Linked DNA regions of Homo sapiens: all the other regions are linked to region 5. Evidence: promoter capture Hi-C in human tissues and cell types (Jung and others, 2019). All regions are on one chromosome and are shown on one strand. Each heading gives the region's core, a stretch centred on a gene start or on the middle of the fragment in contact. The rest is flanking DNA. Distances are from core to core; before and after follow the strand shown.

What was found. The method cuts DNA at HindIII sites, captures the fragments that hold promoters and counts their contacts. A contact is called where the count stands out against the background at its distance.
Region 1: a fragment that was not itself captured here is called in contact with the fragment with the promoter of TIMM22 in region 5 in 1 of the 25 tissues and cell types used here (lymphoblastoid cells).
Region 2: a contact is called between a fragment that was not itself captured here and the fragment with the promoter of TIMM22 in region 5, in 3 of the 25 tissues and cell types used here (dorsolateral prefrontal cortex, lymphoblastoid cells and mesenchymal stem cells).
Region 3: a fragment that was not itself captured here is called in contact with the fragment with the promoter of TIMM22 in region 5 in 3 of the 25 tissues and cell types used here (H1 embryonic stem cells, bladder and thymus).
Region 4: a contact is called between a fragment that was not itself captured here and the fragment with the promoter of TIMM22 in region 5, in 5 of the 25 tissues and cell types used here (IMR-90 fibroblasts, aorta, dorsolateral prefrontal cortex and 2 more).
Region 6: a contact is called between a fragment that was not itself captured here and the fragment with the promoter of TIMM22 in region 5, in 2 of the 25 tissues and cell types used here (dorsolateral prefrontal cortex and lymphoblastoid cells).

What each region holds. Positions count from the first base shown.
Region 1 is chr17:666,410-669,521 of GRCh38, forward strand. All of the region lies in intron 4 of VPS53 (VPS53 subunit of GARP complex), which reads right to left. Among named protein-coding and RNA genes, the nearest start is that of VPS53, 47 kb to the right of the region's middle. The HindIII fragment of the contact is 7,961 bases long and covers 1-3,112 here.
Region 2 is chr17:686,241-689,259 of GRCh38, forward strand. All of the region lies in intron 4 of VPS53 (VPS53 subunit of GARP complex), which reads right to left. Among named protein-coding and RNA genes, the nearest start is that of VPS53, 27 kb to the right of the region's middle. The HindIII fragment of the contact is 7,720 bases long and covers 1-3,019 here.
Region 3 is chr17:600,676-604,053 of GRCh38, forward strand. It overlaps VPS53 (VPS53 subunit of GARP complex), which reads right to left. Exons shown (of 22, transcript NM_001128159.3): 12 at 1,120-1,221. Among named protein-coding and RNA genes, the nearest start is that of VPS53-AS1, 80 kb to the left of the region's middle. RefSeq lists an enhancer at 413-1,612. The HindIII fragment of the contact is 3,119 bases long and covers 153-3,271 here.
Region 4 is chr17:737,456-741,043 of GRCh38, forward strand. TLCD3A (TLC domain containing 3A) reads left to right here. Exons shown (of 5, transcript NM_024792.3): 3 at 391-592; 4 at 3,050-3,145. Among named protein-coding and RNA genes, the nearest start is that of TLCD3A, 6.7 kb to the left of the region's middle. The HindIII fragment of the contact is 5,610 bases long and covers 1-3,588 here.
Region 5 is chr17:995,685-999,116 of GRCh38, forward strand. TIMM22 (translocase of inner mitochondrial membrane 22) reads left to right here and starts at 1,445. Exons shown (of 4, transcript NM_013337.4): 1 at 1,445-1,696; 2 at 3,095-3,291. The coding sequence starts at 1,459. RefSeq lists an enhancer at 1,467-2,158. The HindIII fragment of the contact is 16,003 bases long and covers 1-3,432 here.
Region 6 is chr17:554,884-558,120 of GRCh38, forward strand. All of the region lies in intron 15 of VPS53 (VPS53 subunit of GARP complex), which reads right to left. It overlaps LOC124903891 (a long non-coding RNA gene), which reads left to right and starts at 1,001. Exons shown (of 2, transcript XR_007065571.1): 1 at 1,001-1,136; 2 at 1,333-1,457. The HindIII fragment of the contact is 3,663 bases long and covers 1-3,237 here.

The DNA.
Region 1 (3,112 bases), core at 452-2,951, 330 kb before region 5:
TCCCAGCACTTTGGGAGGCCAGGGCGGGTGGATGACCTGAGGTCAGGAGTTCAAGACCAGCCTGACCAATATGATGAAACCCTGTCTCTACTCAAAATACAAAAATTAGCCGGGCGTGGTGGCAGGCGCCTGTAATCCCAGCTACTCAGGAGGCTGAGACAGGATAATCGCGTGAACCCAGGAGGCAGAGGTTGCAGTGAGCCAAGATCGTGCCACTGCACTCCAGCCTGGGCAACAAGAGCAAAACTCCATCTCAAAACAACAACAACAACAAAAAACTCATGTGGATCATGAGGTCAAGAGTTTGTGACCAGCCTGACCAACATGGTGAAACCCCTGTCTCTACTAAAAATACAAAAATTAGCCAGGCATGGTGGTGTGCACCTGTAATCCCAGCTACTCAGGAGGCTGAGGTAGGAGAATTGCTTGAACCCAGGAAACGGAAGCTGCAGTGAGCCAAGATGGTGCCATTGCACTCCAGCCTAGGCGACAGAGCAAGACTCCATCTCAAAAAAAAAAATGAAGACAGCTGCTACTGATTTTGACAACAGGGAAGTTGTTGGTGACCTTGACAAGAGCAGTCTCAATGCAGTCAAGGGAATGGACAGCGATGACATGAAGTAGAGGCTGTGATCACAGAGCAGGCCACAAATGATGGCCTGTGGGCTGAAGCCAGTCTGCCACGTCTGCCACCTGTTTTTGTAAACAATGTGTTTTTGGACCGAAACTCATTAATAATACTTAAACCAAACTCATTTGTTTAAGTATTGTTTATGGGGACTTTTGCCACACAATGGCAGAGATAAATAGTTACAACAGAGACCATATGGTCAGTAAAGGCTAAAATATTTACTATCCAGCCCTTAACAGAAAGCTTGCTGACCCTGGTATAGACTTTTTTTTTCAAGAAGTTTTTGCTATGAGAAAGGAAGAAAAATAGGGCAAAAGATGGCGTAAAGGGAGTAATTTTTAAAGATGAGAAATGCTTGCATACGTCTGCTTGGGAGTGATTTAGCAGGAGAGAAATTTATTTGGGGGGGCAATGGGTTAATTACAGAAGAGGACTGTTTTAAACATAATGTTCTGGGGGGGGCAATGGGTTAATTACAGAAGAGGACTGTTTTAAACATAATGTTCTGGGGGGGGCAATGGGTTAATTACAGAAGAGGACTGTTTTAAACATAATGTTCTGCGGAGGGGGCAATGGGTTAATTACAGAAGAGGACTGTTTTAAACATAATGTTCTGGGGGGGGGGGCAATGGGTTAATTACAGAAGAGGACTTTTTTAAACATAATGTTCTTGAATTGTTTAGTGCAGGGGACCCCAAGCCCTGGGCCGTGGGCCAGCACCAGTCCGTGGCCTGTTGGGAACTGGGCCGCACAGCAGGAGGTGAGCGGTGGGCAAGTGAGTGAGCATGATCTTCTGAGCTCCCCCTCCTCAGATCAGCAGCGGTATTAGATTCTCATAGGAGCGCGAACCCTACTGTGAACTGCACACGCGAGGGATCTAGGTTGCAAGCTCCTTAACAGAATCTAACTAAGGCCTGATTATCTGAGGTGGAACAGTTTCATCCTGAAACCATGTCCCCCTCCCTGGTCCATGGAAAAACTGTCTTCCAAAAAACTGCTCGCTGGTGCCAAAAAGGTTGGGGACCACTGGTTTAGTGTATGAGTATTAGCCCTTTAGCAGGGTTATAAGTATCCTTTAGAATGGGGACCAAGGATATGAACAGCACTCCTATAGAGCCCATAGCTGAGCCAATCATCCATTTGGTTTACCGGGGACACGCTGCGTTTATGATTCAGTATAGTTATTAACAGCTCCCTCTCCTTCTCAAAGTGACTCTGGTGATAAATCATATGGTCACCTCACCTACAGCACCTAAGCAAGGCTATGGCACAGTGGGACCTTGACAAATATTGCCCACTGATTAAAAGTATCATGGTGCACCTGTAAGAGTGCTGGTGCTGAGGCTACCGCTCTGAATAAGTGCGCTCATAACCATTCCTCTAACTTCAGGCCCAACCATGAGCAGTGGTTCAAAATCACAGCTTCATGCTTTCTGTAAGTATTCTCTATTTGGCTTAAACAGAGTCTAATATCCAAGATGCTACATGGGATCAGTAAATTCTAAAAAAGTTTCAATCGTGGAGTAAAAAGTGCAACAGAGGCCTCTGTAGGCAACTGACCACTAGAAAGGACTGATCTTTTTCGACACAGCTCACATGGAATTCTGTGATACTGCAGGTCATGTCATGTTATGGTGACATGCTAATGGGACCATAGCTACTGTGTTCTAGACAAACACCCTAAAACATATGACATGCAGCTAAGAAAGGCAAAAAAGGGGCTAAGTTATACACTTAGGTCTCACATATGAAGAAGTCTGCATGATCCTATCTCAGAGAAAGGGTTTCTATCCCTTTCTCTCTTACATTAAACCTGGCATCCTACCAGAACTGTCTCTGCTGAAGGTATCGCTTTTTTCTTCCAGCAAACAAATAAGACTCACACAATCTTACATGTCACAGTCTCCAAGATAGATAAACTATGTGCCAGACTTTTTTCGGGCTGGAATACTTTTGCTTGTTTTAATAAGGTACTGAAGTTGGGGAAATGTACTATAATTCATTTTGCAGAGTTTAAAAACTCCTCTGAAGCACTGGTGCTATCAGGCAAGTCCATTCTCAACACACACCCTAATATTTGACATCTAACCTCTGATCATGAGTCATATAGAAAGATTGTTTTGCAACTGGAAGAATCATGGGTCCTACAAGAAGTTAAGGTTTTTTTAAGAAACACAAAAATACCTTCACTACCTGGCTAATCAGAAATGTGCTGAAAGAATCACTCTGGCACTGTCCCTAGACACTTTTTAAAATAAAAACGTGGTTGGCCGGGGGGGCAGTAGCTCACACCTATAATCCCAGCACGCTGCAAGGCTGACGGTGGATTACTTGAGGCCAGGAGTTCAAGACCAGTCTGACCAACATGACGAAACTCCGTCTCTACTAAAAATACTAAAAAAATTAGCTGTGTGTGCTAGTACATGCCTATAGTTCCAGCTACTCCGGAGGCTGAGGCATGAGAATCACTTGAGCCCAGGA
Region 2 (3,019 bases), core at 520-3,019, 310 kb before region 5:
GCCCAGGAGTTCAAGGCTAGAGTGAGCTACGATCCTGCCATTACATTCCAGCCTGAATGACAGAGTGAGACCCTGTCTCTAAGAAGAAAAAAAAGAAGAATTTGGAAGTTATAAAAACTAGAAATGAAAAAAAATCTATCTGCAGTCTCAAATTTCAAAAACAATACAAATAATAAATTCTGTTGTCAAGTGGAATGTTTATTTTAACTATAGGGTGATATTGCATGTCACGCCAGGCAAACATCTAATGGAGGTCTTGAAGACAGGACAAGAGAAATGAACCTTTGACCACCACTGTTGCCACAGCAGATATTCTGGACCATAGGTAAGCTGTGCCGCCATTTTTATTCACAGAGAACAGCACGCTGAAGGCAGTAAGGGGCCTGGGATAATTCAGAACAAGTAAACCTGGAGTTGCTTTAAAGCACAGCAGTGGGGCTGGAGAGGAGCTGATGGAGCTGACGGAAAAGCCACAGGAACTCGACAAATACCTGGATGCACGGAACTAGGAAAACTGAAATTCCAGTGGACTGTGTATCAGCAGCACTGGTGTTCCTGCCATTTACTAAACATGAGTGAGCCCAACATTGTGCAAAAAAGGTGTTTTAAAATACATTTATTCTAGGCCAGATGTGGTGGCTCATGCCTGTAATCCCAGCACTTTAGGAGGCTGAGGCAGAAGGATTGCTTGAGGCCAGGAGTTTGAGACTAGCCTGGGCAACATAGCGAGACCTCATCTACACAATACTTAAAAATTACATTAGCTGGGCGCAGTGGCTCACGCCTGTAATCCCAGCACTTTGAGAGGCCAAGGTGGGCAGATCACCTGAGATCAGAAGTTCAAGACCAGCCTGGCCAACATGGTGAAACCCTGTCTCTACCAAAAATATAAAAACTAGCCAGGCGTGGTGGTGGTCGCCTGTAATCTCAGCTACTTGGGAGGCTGAGGCAGGGAGAATCACTTGAACCCAGGAGACGGAGGTTGCAGTGAGCAGAGATCGTAACACGGCACTCCAGCCTGGGTGACACAGCAAGACTCCAGCTCAAAAAAAAAAAGCCAGGTGCGGTGGCTCATACCTGTAATCCCAGCACTTTGGGAGGCTGAGGCACGCAGATCATGAGGTCAGAAGATCGAGACCATCCTGGCCAACATGGGGAAACCCCATCTCCACTAAAATACAGAAAATTAGCCGGGCGTGGTGGCACATGCCTGTAGTCCCAGCTACTCAGGAGGCTGAGGCAGGGGAATTGCTTGAACCCAGGAGGCAGAAGCTGCAGTGAGCCAAGATCGCACCAATGCACTCCAGCCTGGAGAGAGAGCAAGACTCAGTCTCAAAAAAAAAAAAAAAAAGATGCGCATGGTGGCATGTGCCTGTGGTCCCAGCTACTCGGGACGCTGAAGTGAGAGGATCACTTGAGCCCACGAGGTTGAGGGCGCAGCGAGCTGTGATTGCACCACTCCACTCTAGCCTGGGCAACAAAGTAAGACCCTGTCTCAAAAACAAATAAATAAATAAGTGGATAAATAAAATAAAGTATATTAATTCTAATCCCCCCTAACCCTGAGGTACGTATTATTATCTCCATGTCACAGATGGAAAGTTAAATATCTTGTCCAAGGTCACACAGATAACAGCAGAGACAAAATTTAAATTCAAAGCTCAAGTTTTTTTCACTTTACCAAGATGCCATCCAATGTTACATCACTGAAGATATCTAACTACACCAATCCTTAGAGAATTGAAATAAAATGCCCAGTCCTTCACTGTACATAGAGGAGAGAAGATAGCTATTTGGATTCCTTATAGCTTTTCTAAAAATGAGGGATTTTAGAGGATACGTGGCAAAGTGTTCCAAATATGCCGCAGACATGTCTCCCTGCCAAAAAAGCGCTATCAAGGTGATATGATTTGGCTGTGTCCCCACCCAAATCCCTACATGTCATAGGAGGGACCTGGTGGGAAGTCACTGAACCACGGGGTGGTTTCTCCCATTCTATTCACGTGATAGTAAGTTCTCACAAGATCTGATGGTTTTGTAAGAGGCTTCCCCCTTCGCTCAGCTCTCATTCTTCCTCTCTCCTGCCACCTTGTGAAGAAGGATGGGTTTGCTTCCCTTTCCACCATGATTGTAAGTTTCCTGAGGCATCCCCAGCCCTGCAGAAATGTGAGTCAATTAAACCTCTTTCCTTTATAAATTACCCCGTCTAAGGTATTTCTTCATAGCAGTGTGAGAACGGACTAATACACAAGGCTTGTGTGCAATAAACAGGATGAAGAATGGTAGTGAGGCCAAACCCAGTTGCACTACATTGTTAAACAGTTAACGGACATTTTATGAGTCCCCGCCTCAACTACAACCAGTAGCACTCTAGAAGCAGGCAAAATGAACAGTCGCCCGCCCCGCCTCAACTACAACCAGTAGCACTCTAGAAGCAGGCAAAATGAACAGTCACCGGATTCAACTTGACAAAGGCAAGCCAACCTTGACCTCTGCACTAGACGTAAGAAATCCTGGTTGGGAAATGACTGTGAGCCCGAATCAAAACTCTGCCCCTACAAAAGGCTGATCTAACAACCCGACTCCAGGGCTGCCCCACAGATCACGGTGTTCAGGGCACTCCCAGGTCATGTCCAAACCTCAGCAATTCCTGAAGTTTAGTGTTATTTGCAGACATGCTGAAAAGTACAACGCAAAAAATAATAACAGAAAAGAAACAAAAAATGTCCAGCCAATCTTGGCCACTAATGGGAAACTTCGAGGCCATACTCTAAAAGCTCAGTCGCTTTAGCTGTGGTATGTTTTAGTAGGAAGAAGCAAGTAGCAATTGCCATTTTTTTCCAAACTATTTGTGGTCCCTTTAATACTAATACCAATTACTTTCTTCAATTTTTATCAATCAATGGGCTTCATTTTCCTCCCAAGAGAGGATGAGAGAAAGGATCAATTTAAAGTGAGGGAGGATAAGAATATAAAGTCTCCTTCTAGTGAGCTGACAATGACAAATTCAAAATCCCAC
Region 3 (3,378 bases), core at 462-2,961, 390 kb before region 5:
TGGGAAAGGAATTCTAGTTTCTGACATTGAGACCTGGCTTCCAGTTTAAGCTCCTCCACTTCCAAGCTGTGCAACCCTGGGCCAACCACTTAACCTCTCTGAGCTGCAGTTTCATCACCTATAAAGCAAGAGGCAGGAATTGTGACGATAACATAAAGCATGTAAAAGAATTTAAAAGTGCAAAGGACTATAAAAGTGTGAGTATCCATTCTATTACAATCATTTAATCAAGGGACCAGACACATTTGATTGCATCATTTCAGAACTGCTCCTGGAAGCTCTGCTCTCTTGGCTCCTGCCCTTGTGGTGCTGGGAAAGAATGAATGCAGGGCTAGCTGCAAAGTACATGGTTACAGGTTTCTCAGAGCTGGTCCTCCCAGCCAGCCTCCCTTTTGGTGGTGTCTGGAGCAAAACAATACCGTAAAATAATCCTCCAGCAGCCAAGTGTAGACAATTAAAAACAGGGATCACTAATCTAGAAGGGAAACGTTCTGATTTATTGCTCTAACCTCCCTTGTCATAACATGGCAGTTAACCAAAAACACCATTCTGTAGGATGAAGGGAGAGGAAATTTAGACTTGGACAGAAAAATCCAAAGGAAATTAAAGTGTTAGTGTGCTCTGAAAAGTAACTCTTCAAATATGCCACTGGCCACCTTGACATTTCCAGGCCTCCCCAATGGCTTCCAGACCTAAAGTGATCAGCTTACACTGCATGGAGGCCTCTCCTAGCCGAGGGTGCTGCTGGCTTCCCGGGGATTGTTCAGCCTCTCTCATCATCACTGTACCAGATGACAGTCAAACCAAAAACTCAGCTGACAAGCTCAGGAGATGCTGAATGAGGCAGAGCAGAACTCTCCTGGCCCCACCACAGTGGCTAATGAAGCTTGTGTGTGTCCTGGAGGCGGGGCTCTTCAGGAGCAGAGATGTGGGCAGGGAAGTCTGCCCTTTCATGGAGTTTTCTACATGCACTTTCAGATAAAGGCCTTCTGTAAAGACCACAACAGCTGTCATCTCTGAACGTGGCCAAGAGCCAAAGGATCGTATCTGGAGCAAGCAGACCGATTTTCAGAAACGCACATTGGGTAGGTTACCCGTGGTGACGCAAACCAGACTTACTTGATCTAAATCTCCTTTCTCCGTTGCCAGTTCCTCCATCTCTGGTGTTGGCTCATCTTCCAGGAAGGGATTGGTAGATGGGGGTGGAGACTCAAGCTTTTTCTGTTAGGTAGATATGAGAAAGAGAAGTGTTTTCTGAGCATATTCAATAGCTTTCCCCATTGATCTGCTTTTTCTAGGTGTCTCCAACAAGGAAGTCATGCACGCTATCTGATAAAGAAGAACTGAGGCAACCCAGACCACATTCTTGCCTCCGGGCCTTCACAGTGCTTTCCCTCTTCCTGCAACCTCCCCGACCACCCCGCCCCAACTCGAATCTGGCTAAAACGCTCACGCATCCTCAGTCCTCAAACCGGAACTCCGTTCTGCTGGGAAGCCTTTCCCATCTGTCAGGTTTGGGTCAGATGTCCCTGACACGTGTTCCCAAACCAAGCTACATGTCTCCTACCCAGGCATTTATTAAAATATAGCAATTGCCCATTATTTGTCTTTTCCCTTCTGGCCTCCATGATGGCAGAGATTGTGTCTGTCTTGTTCCCCATCCTATCTCAGTGCCTAGCATGTAGCAGGTCCTCAGTAAATAGAAATGAATCAAAGTGCCAGATGGATTTCAACGCAAGAACAAACTACAAAACTAATCTCATGTGTTCTAGATTAACAGATGTCTCTTCCCAAGTAAGCCCCATTACAACAACCACAACAGAAATCTCCTTGAGAAAATCGACTTCTCAGCTTCCAAATATGACCACTATTTCAAAATACATCACGGAGTGGAAACATGGGCCAGTGGGAAGGCTGCAGGCAGGAGGCATGGTAGCTGTAGCTCCAACCGTGCGGCACTGGCCCTATCACCCAGCTTCTCTGAGCCTCAGTAACTTCATCTGCTGAATGAGGATGTAGTCACAGGACTATCTGGAGGATCAAATGTGAAACCCTAGAAGCAGCACATGATACACACAAGGGTCACTGATGACGTTAATTCCAGTACAACTACAGAATCAAGGCAGCTCTCTGGAATTCCTTTACAGTTTTCACCTAGAGATGTTGTTTATGCCTGGGAGCTGAAGGCTTTAGCAGAAAGGAGGCCAACTGGACAAACAGAAAAGAGGGACTGCTTGGTGCTGGGGACGAGGGAAGGGGGCAAGGCATGGCTCTCTGGAGACGAGAAGTTAATGGAGAGGGAGTTTCTAAATGTACTTGGTATTTTAGCCAATACCAGTGGGTCAATCTGAATTAATCTCTAAGCCAAAAGGGACAGCAGATGGACTATAGCGTGAATAACTTTGCCAAGTGCCAGGACACCATCTGAAGCTATTACAAACAAAAATAAAACCAAAACTTACACAAAGGCCGGGTGCAGTGGCTCACACCTGGAATCCCAGCACTTTGGGAGGCTGAGGCGGCGGATCACTTGAGGTCAGGAGTTCAAGACCAGCCTGAACAACATGGTGAAAGCCTGTCTCTACTAAAAATACCAAAATTAGCAGCGTGGTGGTAGGCGCCTGTAATCCCAGCTACTTGGGAGGCTGAGGCACAAGAATTGCTTGAATCCAGGAAGTGGAGGTTGCAGTGAGCCAAGATGGCACCACTGCACTCCAGCCTGGGTGACAAAGCGAGACTCCGTCTCAAAAATAAAATACAATAAAATAAATACATTGCACAAAAGCACTACACCTGCGTCTGGTTTTTGGTTTAAGACAATACTGCTAACAGTCATTTAATAACTGCTTATTTTTTGGCCAAAACACTTGGATGCAAGTGATGTGGACAGATACAGCCTCGGTGCATGACAAAGCCTTGTGGTGATGGCATTAGCTCGAGGTAATCAGTAGTAAGATGATGGTTTTTGTGGTATCCTGGTGATAAACAATATGGTCTAACACCCAAGCAAGTATTTCACATTTGCACACTCCAAACTTTGGCTTCTTTACCTAACATGAGAGAAAAAAAATCCTTAAAAATGTACAGCTCTTGTTAGAAAGCAGTATTTCTAAGCTTGAGTTGTCTTCTTAAGGGCTGCTGATATTTTAGAGAGAGAGGAATAGTAATAAAGGGAATCTACCAAGCTTAATCTTCAACAACCATAAAAAAATTAAATTAGGTAATAGCATTAGACTCCTGATTCCACTGGCTTAACAGTGGGCTCTGGGATTATGCTGTTGAGCTGAGTCACTATGATTCTAAGTCTTTTGGTCCTTTGTAGATATGAAAAGCAAGTCAGCTAACTGAAGTTAAAAGCTTTGATCAAAATCATTCAGT
Region 4 (3,588 bases), core at 208-2,707, 260 kb before region 5:
TAGAAATGTTGGATTTGTGATTTGGGACACTTTCCAAACCAGCTTCTTGGTGGGGCCGTTGAATCATTTGTATATCTATCTATATCAAAATCAGTTTTATCACAAAATGCCAGAACATCTACTACAAATTAGTAGCTAAGTCAGGCAAGTAGTGACAGCAAGCTGCTTCAACAGGCAGGGCTGAGTGAATGCCTGCTTTTTGCCTTTGACACTCACGAATTGGCCCTGAAACTGAGAGCAAGTGGTCTACTCTCCCTGTTTATCAGTTTCAACATCTTTATTGTAAAGTATTTGGAATAATAATAGCTGATCAAGCACCAAGCTTGGCTGTGAGCCTTCATAATGGATATCCACAATGATTTCACGGGCCATTCATATGCTTTCTTTCAGGCACTGGCTTGCCCGGGAATATGTGTGGTTTCTGATTCCATACATGATCTATGACTCGTACGCCATGTACCTCTGTGAATGGTGCCGAACCAGAGACCAGAACCGTGCGCCCTCCCTCACTCTTCGAAACTTCCTAAGTCGAAACCGCCTCATGATCACACATCATGCGGTCATTCTCTTTGTCCTTGTGCCAGTCGCACAGGTATGGCCTTCCAGGACAGCAGACCAGCAGCTGGGTTGAGCTGGGTGTCTTTTTTTTTTTTTTTTTCTGAGACAGTCTCACTCTGCCGCCCCAGCTGGAGTGCAGTGGTGTGATCTCAGCTCACTGCAACCTCCGCCTCCCGGGTTCAAGCGATTCTCCTGCCTCAGCCTCCTGAGTAGCTGGGATTGCAGGTGCCCACCACCACGCCCGGCTAATGTTTGTATTTTTAGTAGAGATGGGGTTTTGCCATGTTGGCCAGGCTGATTTCAAACTCCTGAACTCAAGTGATCCGCCCGCCTCGGCCTCCCAAAGTTCTGGGATTACAGGCATGAGCCACTGCGCCCGGCCTGAGCTGGATGTCTTGACCGTTACTTAGGAGTCGGGATTGCCCCTCTTTTCTTTGCCACTCATAGGCACCCATTCTCCTTGTGCCTGCTGCTTCAGAGCCACCTCCCCCAGGTGAATAGTGGAGGAACACCATTACACATGAAACGTTCATGATCCTCCTTACCAACATCAACATCAACATACTTTTTCTTTTTTGAGACAGGGTTTCACTCTGTCACCCCGGGTGGAGTGCAGTTGTTGGATCACAGCTCACTGTAGCCTCAAACTACTGGCCTCAAGTGATCCTCCTGCCTCTGCTTCCCAGGAAGCTGGGAACACAGGCACACACTACAACGTCCAGCTAATTCCTGTAATTTTTGTAGAGTTTCTCCATGTTGCCCAGGCTGGTCTCAAACTCTTGGACTCAAGTGATCCTCCTGCCTAGGCCTCCCAAAGTGCTGGGATTACAGGCGCGAGCCACTGCACCCGGCCCCAACATTCTTTTTAACAAACCCCCAGCGCTCTGTGATTCCCTAGCGTTTGTCAGAGGTTCTATCCTTAGTTCAATACAAGATAAAAACAATATAAAATACAAATATAATACAAAGCAACATAACAGTGCCAGAGAGCACTGTGTGGATTATTCTTAGGTCACAAAACACAGATTCTCAAAGCAAATAGCCTCCTACTTTCTCCCCAGATCCATTTCCCCATAAAAGCCCACCCAACAAAGAAAAGCAATGGGAAAGCTGAGGGGAAATTCCTCACTCTTGAGTGCCTGGCCAGGGGAAGGCATGCGTTTTTTTTTTTAATTATTCATTTATTTAGTTATTCATTTTTTTGAGATGGCGTTTTGCTCTTGTTGCCCAGGCTGGAGTGCAATGGCTCACTGCAACCTCTGCCTCCCGGGTTCAAGTGATTCTCCTGCCTCAGCCTTCCAAGCAGCTGGGTTTACAGATGCACGCCACCATGCCTGGCTAATTTTTATATTTTTATTAGAGACGGGGTTTCACCATATTGGTCAGGCTGATTTCAAACTCCTGACCTCAGGTGATCCACCTGCCTCAGCCTCCCAAAGTGCTGGGATTACAGGCGTGAGCCACTGCTCTTGGCCGGCATGTAGTTTTATTTTATTTTTTAAATAAAGAGATGGGGGTCTCCTTATGAGGCCCAGGCTGATCTTGAACTCCTGGGCTCAAGGGATCCTCCCGTCTCAGCCTCCCAAAGTGCTGGGATTATAGGCGTGAGCCACCGCGCCCTGCCAGGCATGTGATTTAAAAGTTCATAGCTTGCTAAATATTAGAAGCTATTAGTCTTATGCTGTAGATGAAGAAACTGGGGCTCTAAGAGTATTCTTATATCTCTCAGTGGTACTAAGTGGCAGAGCTGATATTTTACCATGCTTACTGCTTTCTTGAAAAAAGAGGCCGGGCGAGGTGGCTCATGCCTGTAATCCCAGTCAGAAGTTCGAGACCAGCCTGGCCAACATGGTGAAACCCCATCTCTACTAAAAATACAAAAATTAGCCGGGTGTGATGCTGTACATCTGTAGTTCCAGGTACTCAGGAGCCTGAGGCAGGAGAGTCATTTGAACCCGGGAGGCAGAGGTTGCAGTGAGCTGAGATCACGCCATTGCTCTCCAGCCTGGGCAACAAGAACAAAACTCCGTCTCAAAAAATAAAAATAAAATAAATAAATAAGGGTAACGTGCATTAAATTCTTTAAGAAGTGTCTGGGACCTACCATCTAGGAACCAGAACATCTAGGGTGCTTTGAGACCCTAACATCTAGCACAGGGCCTGGCACATTTTGTTGAACCAAACAGGCTGAGTGTCTTGGCATGACTAAGTTCGATACACAAAAGTAGGCTTGCAGCCTTCCTTCCGGCTGTCATCAAAATTCAGAGCTTGGTGTGGGACGCCGTCATCCTGTCTGAATTTGCCTCTGGATCCTAGGGCTTGGACCATCAAAGTGCTGTTGCCACGGAAGCAGCGGTACAGTAGTCTGCGCTTGCCTATTGAGCGTCCTTTGCCCGTCACAGTTACCCTTTTCAGTAGCCCTCGTTGGAATTTTCCTTCTGGTGGTTTCTTAACCTCCACTTACTTCCCCTTTTCGTTTCGTCATCCGCAGAGGCTCCGGGGAGACCTTGGGGACTTCTTTGTCGGCTGCATCTTCACGGCAGAACTGAGCACTCCGTTTGTGTCGCTGGGCAGGGTTCTGATTCAGGCATGTATGAATGAAATGACAGAGAGTGTGAGGGTTCTGATTCAGGCATGTATGAATGAAATGACAGAGAGAGTGAGGGTTCTGATTCAGGCATGTATGAATGAATGGCAGAGAGAGTGAAGGTTCTGATTCAGGCATGTATGAATGAATGGCAGAGAGAGTGAGGGTTCTGATTCAGGCATGCATGAATGAAATGGCAGAAAGAGTGTGGGAGGGAGTGGATTCTGCTTTTCCTTCGGAGATGGTGGGTGTGGAGAAATCCCTAGTGCCAGGAGAGTGGGATGAGAGATCCTTCAACAGCCTTAAAGGTCAGCTGGTCATCTCAGCCAGTGGGGGTGAAATTGTAGGTTTGATCTAAGTTTGATAGTTTGATACAGCTCATTCTATTTTTTCCCTGGTTACACACATACTTTAATCCACGGTTCCTGTACTCCTGTCAGCTG
Region 5 (3,432 bases), core at 195-2,694:
AGTCGGGAGGCTGAGGCAGGAGAATCGCTCAAACCCGGGAGGTGCAGGTTGCAGTGAGCGGAGATTGCACCACTGCACTCCAACCTGGGTGACAGAGCAAGACTCTGTCTCAAAAGAGTAATTTTAAAAAGTAAGGCAACAAATTATCAGGAGTTTTTGAGCTGGTTGTTAAGCACAGTTATTATTAAAAATTACATTCTATACATTTATAATAAATTACACTAAAAATAGGTAATATGTGCTCAAAACTCATCCCCTCCTAAAAATTTTACTACACTGTACTCCTATCTATGCTGTTGAGGTTATTTCCATAGATTGTATCTGTGTGATAGAAACACCATGTAACCACATGCTGCTGTACGTCTTCCCAATTCTGACTGATGACCTCGCTTGGTAGTTTGAAATCAGCCATGATGGGGATATTAACACCACACAAGTCAGCAAATGCTGTCAGTTAGGATTTTTTTTTTTTTTTTTTTTTTTTTGAGACGGAGTCTTGCTCTTGTCGCCCAGGCTGGAGTGCGATGGTGCGATCTTGGCTCACTGCAACCTCCACCTCCCGGGTTTAAGAGATTCTCCTGTCTCAGCCTCCCGAGTAACTGAGATTACAGGCGCCTGCCGCCACCTGGCTAATTTTTATATTTTTAGTAGAGACGGGGTTTCCTGCTTCAGCCTCCTAAGTAGCTGAGAATACAGGCGTGCACCACCATGCCCAGCTAATTTTTTTATTTTTTATTTTTTTAATTTTTAGTAGAGATGGGGTTTCACCATGTTTGTCAGACTGGTCTCGAACTCCTGACCTCGTGATCCACCGGCCTCGGCCTCCCACAGTGCTGGATGACAGGCGTGAGCCCCCGCGCCCGGTCCGTGCATTTACAGCACAAGTTCACGCTTATCTACAAAGCATCCACCTCTCACCGCACCTTCCGGGACCACGGGATTTAACGCCTCACCGCCCGATGACAGCACGAGGTGGAAAGGGCAGCGACAATGCTCGCGCGTCCCCTCCCGGCGATCCGGAGCACGGCAGCCCCGGAGCGCGCGGCCACTCCTCGCTCCCCTCAGGAGCTCGTAAGAGCCCCGCGCGGGGCCGAGGCGCGAGAGCACGCGCAACGCTTCCTGGGAAATGTAGTTGGGTGTCGGATTAGAACTACAAATCCCGGTACTCACCGCGCTGCAGCCCCGACCGTGAGGGCGCTTTCTGGTGAATCTGAATCTCGTTTGTCTGTGACATGGGGAAAGCTGTCCAAGCCCAATTCCATTTTCACAAGAGGCTTTCTTTTTGGAAACATGATAGCGGTCTCGCTGGTGTGCGCACCAGGAGCGTTGCGGCCGCGGCTTCCTCCTGCGGCGAATCTGCCGTTGCATCACAGTGGCTAGTCTCAGGGCCCGCAACGTGACGCTTGTCGAATCTGCTGCGGGGAGAAGGACGCGAGGGTTGCTTGGGCAGCGACTGTCATGGCGGCGGCCGCCCCCAATGCCGGAGGCTCGGCCCCTGAGACAGCGGGTTCCGCCGAAGCTCCGCTGCAGTACAGCCTGCTCCTGCAGTACCTGGTGGGTGACAAGCGTCAGCCCCGGCTCCTGGAGCCTGGGAGCCTGGGCGGGATCCCAAGTCCAGCCAAGAGTGAGGAGCAGAAGATGATCGAGAAGGCGATGGAAAGCTGCGCTTTCAAGGCTGCGCTGGCCTGCGTGGGAGGTGAGGCCGGGCGATGGGACCCTTGGGAGGCTGAGGGCCTGGACGGCAGTGGGGATCTCTGCCGAGAAGACCACGCGCCTGGGAGGCGAGGGACTGCGGGCCTTGACCTTGACCACACCCTCGCCTCGTTCGTGAATCGGGCGTCACCTCTCCTGCCCCCTCAGGCCGGCTTTCCTGATGAAAATTGGGTTAGAGAATCGGTGCTGTGGTTGGGGCCTGAAAGTTATTACATGACATCCTGGCTAACACGGTGAAACCCCGTCTCTACTAAAAATACAAAAAATTAGCTGGACGTGGTGGTGGGCGCCTGTAGTCCCAGCTATTCGGGAGGTTGAGGCAGGAGAATCGCTTGAACCCAGGAGGCGGAGCTTGCAGTGAGCCGAGATGTGCCACTGCTCTCCAGCCTGGGCGACAGAGCGAGACTCCGTCTCAAAAACAACAACAAAAAGTTATTACGTGGGTGACTTCATTCATCCGTTCATTCCCTTAAATTCATTCTCTTAAATAATTCTTTCAACAAATTGTTCCTAAGCAATATCACGTGCCAGGTGAAAGAGACAAGAGCCTGGTCTTCATGGGGCCTGTATTATACTATGTGGAGAAGAATGTTGAGCAGGAACACTGCAGAGGAAGGATGCAGACATATGGAAATGCACATGCAGACGACTCTAGGGCAGCAGTTGTTTGAGGTTTGAAAAACTGAAAGACCATTGTGACTAGACAGCCCCGAGCAAGGAGAGACGAAGTCTGCACTTGTCCTTCTGTTTTTCCCTTAAGTTGAAGGGGAGGTGCCCATGATTTTATTAAACTCATATTGACCATGAGGTCATGAGAGGGCATCCATCTGGACATGTCCAGCCGGCTCAGGAAGGACAGATGTGGCAGCAGTGTGGGATTTGCCATTAGGTAGCTGTGTGGCCTTGGGAGAAGTTGCTTAACCTCTCTGAGCCTCAGTTTATAGAAAGGAGAGGCTAATAGCATCTGTCTCACTGGATTATTGTGAAGAATGAATGAGGCTGTGGCATACTGGCATGTGCTCAGTAAAGCATTACTGTGAATGTCACAGTGGCCAAGAGAGTGATTTGCAAAGTTGATAGCTGAAGTTGAGGGTGGCTGGTTTACATATGAGAGAATGTAGAGAGAATAGAGGGTTAAAGATGGAATCTTGAGAAATGTTAGGGAATGACAGGAGGAAGAAATCTTAGAGACGGAGAAGATGATGTCAGTAACATAGACCCTGGATTGCAAGTCTCCAGGCAAGTGGAGAGTTTGAGTGGCAAGAGGGGGGTGTCCTCTGCACCGGTGGTCATCCAAAAGCATGGTCCCTTCCAGGATGATCCCAATAGAGTAATGCAGAAAACATGCCAAAGACACCTTCATCTCTGTGTTTGCTTCTAGGATTTGTCTTAGGAGGTGCATTTGGGGTGTTTACCGCTGGCATCGATACCAACGTGGGCTTTGACCCTAAGGATCCTTACCGTACACCGACTGCAAAAGAAGTGCTGAAAGACATGGGGCAGAGAGGAATGTCCTATGCCAAAAATTTCGCCATTGTGGGAGCCATGTTTTCTTGTACTGAGTGTTTGATAGAATCTGTAAGTGTCTCTGCCTTCTAAGAAATCCTTGCTGGGGCCACCATTTCATTACTTTTAAAGAGAAATTGCTCTTTAAAAGTCATTTGAAAGTTGTTACTAGAAAGCAAATCAGAAGCATCAGATACATTCTAGGTTGAACTT
Region 6 (3,237 bases), core at 374-2,873, 440 kb before region 5:
AGAATAACATACAAAGATATGCAAGTATTTTTTGCAGCATTCATTAATTCAACCAATATTTAATGAGAGCCCGCTTTGTTCAGGCTGTGTAACAGAATAAGAGAGTTATTTAGTGAACAAAACAGATCAATACTGTTCTCATAAAGCTGGAAACAATCTACATGTGTATTTACAAAGGATAAAACAAATTATGGCACAGGCTTATCATGCTTAAACTCTTCAGCAGCCTCTTCCTATGACACCGAAAATAAAATCCAAATTCCTAACCATGAATTGGGTCCTGCCCAGCTTTCTGGCCCCGTCTTGCCACTTTCCACCTTGCCTGCTAGGCTTCAGTTACACTGGCCTTTTAAATTTCTGGGAGACACCAGGGTCCTTCGCCCTCAGGACCTTCATACTTCACACTTCCTTATTCCTCTCCCTGAAACATGGCCTGCTCAGCCCTGCTGACCCACTGCCTTGCTTTGCCGCACCCCCACTTTCTAAGCCCTCCAGGCTCCTCACTTTTTGGCCACATGTTGGCCATGCTGGTCTCAAACTCCTGACCTCGTGATCTACCCGCCTCAGCCTCCCAAAGTGCTGGGATTACAGACGTGAGCCACCACGCCCGGCCCTAATTTTTGTATTTTTAGTAGAGACGGGGGTTTTACTATGTTGGCCAGGCTGGTCTCGAACTCCTGACCTCAGGTGATCCACCCACCTCGGCCTCCCAAAGTGCTGGGATTACAGGCGTGAGCCCCTGCACTCGGCCAGAGTATCATTCTTTATACCTCCTAATGGAATAATGGATCTGGGCTTTGAGCATCAGAGGCTGCTGACATCACACAAAGAGCAACCAAACATTATGTATCTTGATGACAGACGTACAAAACATCATTATGATGTAGTTTTCTGTAAAAAAGAATCTGAATCAGCTCAGGCTTCTACATCTAACTACCAATTTATGGGAAATACGAGACAAAGTAAAATGTCCATTAATACTCGTGGGTGCAATCAGGAAAATCCAAAACTTGGGAAAATCTACAGGGCAAACAACACAGTTTCTTTAAGAAAAGATTGCAGAGGGGGCAAAGGGAAATGGAAGAAGAAACCAGAGACTTAATAATCTGAGCAGGCTGGACCCAGTGGCTCACCCGGTAATCCCAACTCTTTGGGGGCTGAGGCAAGAAGATCACTTGAGCCCAGGAGCTCAAGACCAGCCTGAGCAACACAGTGAGACCCTATCTCTACAAAAAATAAAAAAATACTGGCCAGGCATGGTGGCAGGTGCCTGAAGTCCCAGTGTAGTCCCAGCCACTTGGGAGGCTGAGGGTAGGATCGCTTTCGTTCCAGGTTTCAGTGAGCTGTGATCAAACCACCGCACTCCAGCCTGGGCAACAGATTGAGACCCCATATTAAACAAAAAGAATCTGAGCAACAAGGAATTGGAAAATAAAATTTAAAAGCAACACCAATAATACATCATTATTGGTTCATTAATTGTAACAAATATTTCATATCAATGTTAATAATATGGGAAACTGGGTAAGTGGTATATGGGAACCATACAAACGATCTTTGCAATTTTTCTGTAAATGTAAAAGTATCCTTAAAAGTGTAGTTTATGTTTTTTAAAAACTATTTACAATAGCAATTCATAACATCGTTCTGTGGTTTGATTGTGTTCTCCAAAGTTTATGGGTTATAAGCTTAATCCCTGAAGCCACAGTGTTGAGAGGTATGAGGTCATGAGGGCTCTGGCATCATCATGGGTTAATGCCATTATCTCAGGAGTGGGCTCTTTTATTCCTTCAAGAGATCTTTATTAAGCACTTATTACGTACCAGGCATTGTATTTGGTGCTAATGAACAGAGGTGAACAAAGTAGACTTTCTGGCATGTAACTTAAAACTAATGGGGGCGCCAGATAATAAGGAAGTAAGCCAGCCGAGACGTAACTTCGGTTTTGTGGTGTTAGGAAATAAATTTGGCAGTGCTGGAATAAGGGAGCTACCTACTGAAGGGGGGTGGCCAGGAGGGCCTCTCTGCTGAAGGGGGGTGGCCAGGAGGGGCTCTCTGAGGAGGTGATACTGAAGCGGGGACCTGAGGCTTGGGGAATGAGACTGCCAAGTGAGAAGCCACCACACCCGGCTAATTTTTGTATTCTTTTAGTAGAGACGGGGTTTTGCCATGTTGACGAGACTGGTCTTAAACTCCTGACCTCAAGTGATCCACCCTCCTCAGCCTCCCAAAGTGCTGGGATTATAGGCATGAGCCACCGCGCCCCCACTCTTCTGGAAGCTCTGAGGAAAAAACTATTTACACCTCTCTTCTAGCTTTGGGTGTTTGCTGGCAATCCTTGATGTTCCTTGGCTCATAGAAGTCTGACTCCAGCCTCTGCCTCCTTCTCACGGCCTTCTTCCCTGTATCTCTGTGTGTTCAATCTCTCTCTCCTTTCTAAGGACAACAGTCATTAGATAAGGCCCCCCACCAATCCTAAATCCAGGACCATCTCATCTTGAGATACTTAATTACATTTACCAAGATAAAGTCACATTTACATGTCCCAAGGCCTAGGACTTGGACATATTTTGGGGTTGGGGGGACACTTCAACCCACTATATCTCCCTGGGTCCTCTTGAGATGACACTAATAGTCTTTGATATTTTTCTTGCTTTTTGTGTAACATGATGTTCTGATTCATCTTGTAGATTTCCTGCCCTTGACCTGGAATTAGTCATTTCTCCAGGAATCTCTGGTTTCTTTTAGTGGAAAATTGTATTTAGAGATCACAATAAAGGTGCTAAGAATGTATTACTTTTGTAATCAATAAAAACAATTTTCACTAAATAAAAAATAATTGGCCACTTGTATCATCAGTCATCAAAATGGTCTTCAACTTATTTCTAGAACTTCTAAGAGTCTGTTCTAGAAAACTAATGCAAAACATTTAAGATGCTATATTCAGAAAGACATTCTTTGTAAGGATTATCTTTTTTTTTTTTTTTTTTTTTAGAGACAGGGTCTCACTCTGTCACCCAGGCTGGAGTGCAGTGGTGTGATCATAGCTCACTGCAGCTTTGACCTCCCAGGCTCAAGCGATCCTCCAACCTCAGCTTCCCAAGTAGCTGAGACCACAGGCATGTACCACCACACTCAACTAACTTTTAAATTTTTTGTAAAGACCAGGTCTCACTATGTTACCCAGGCTGGTCTTGGACTATTGGCCTCAAGCGATCCTTCCACCTTGGCTTCCCA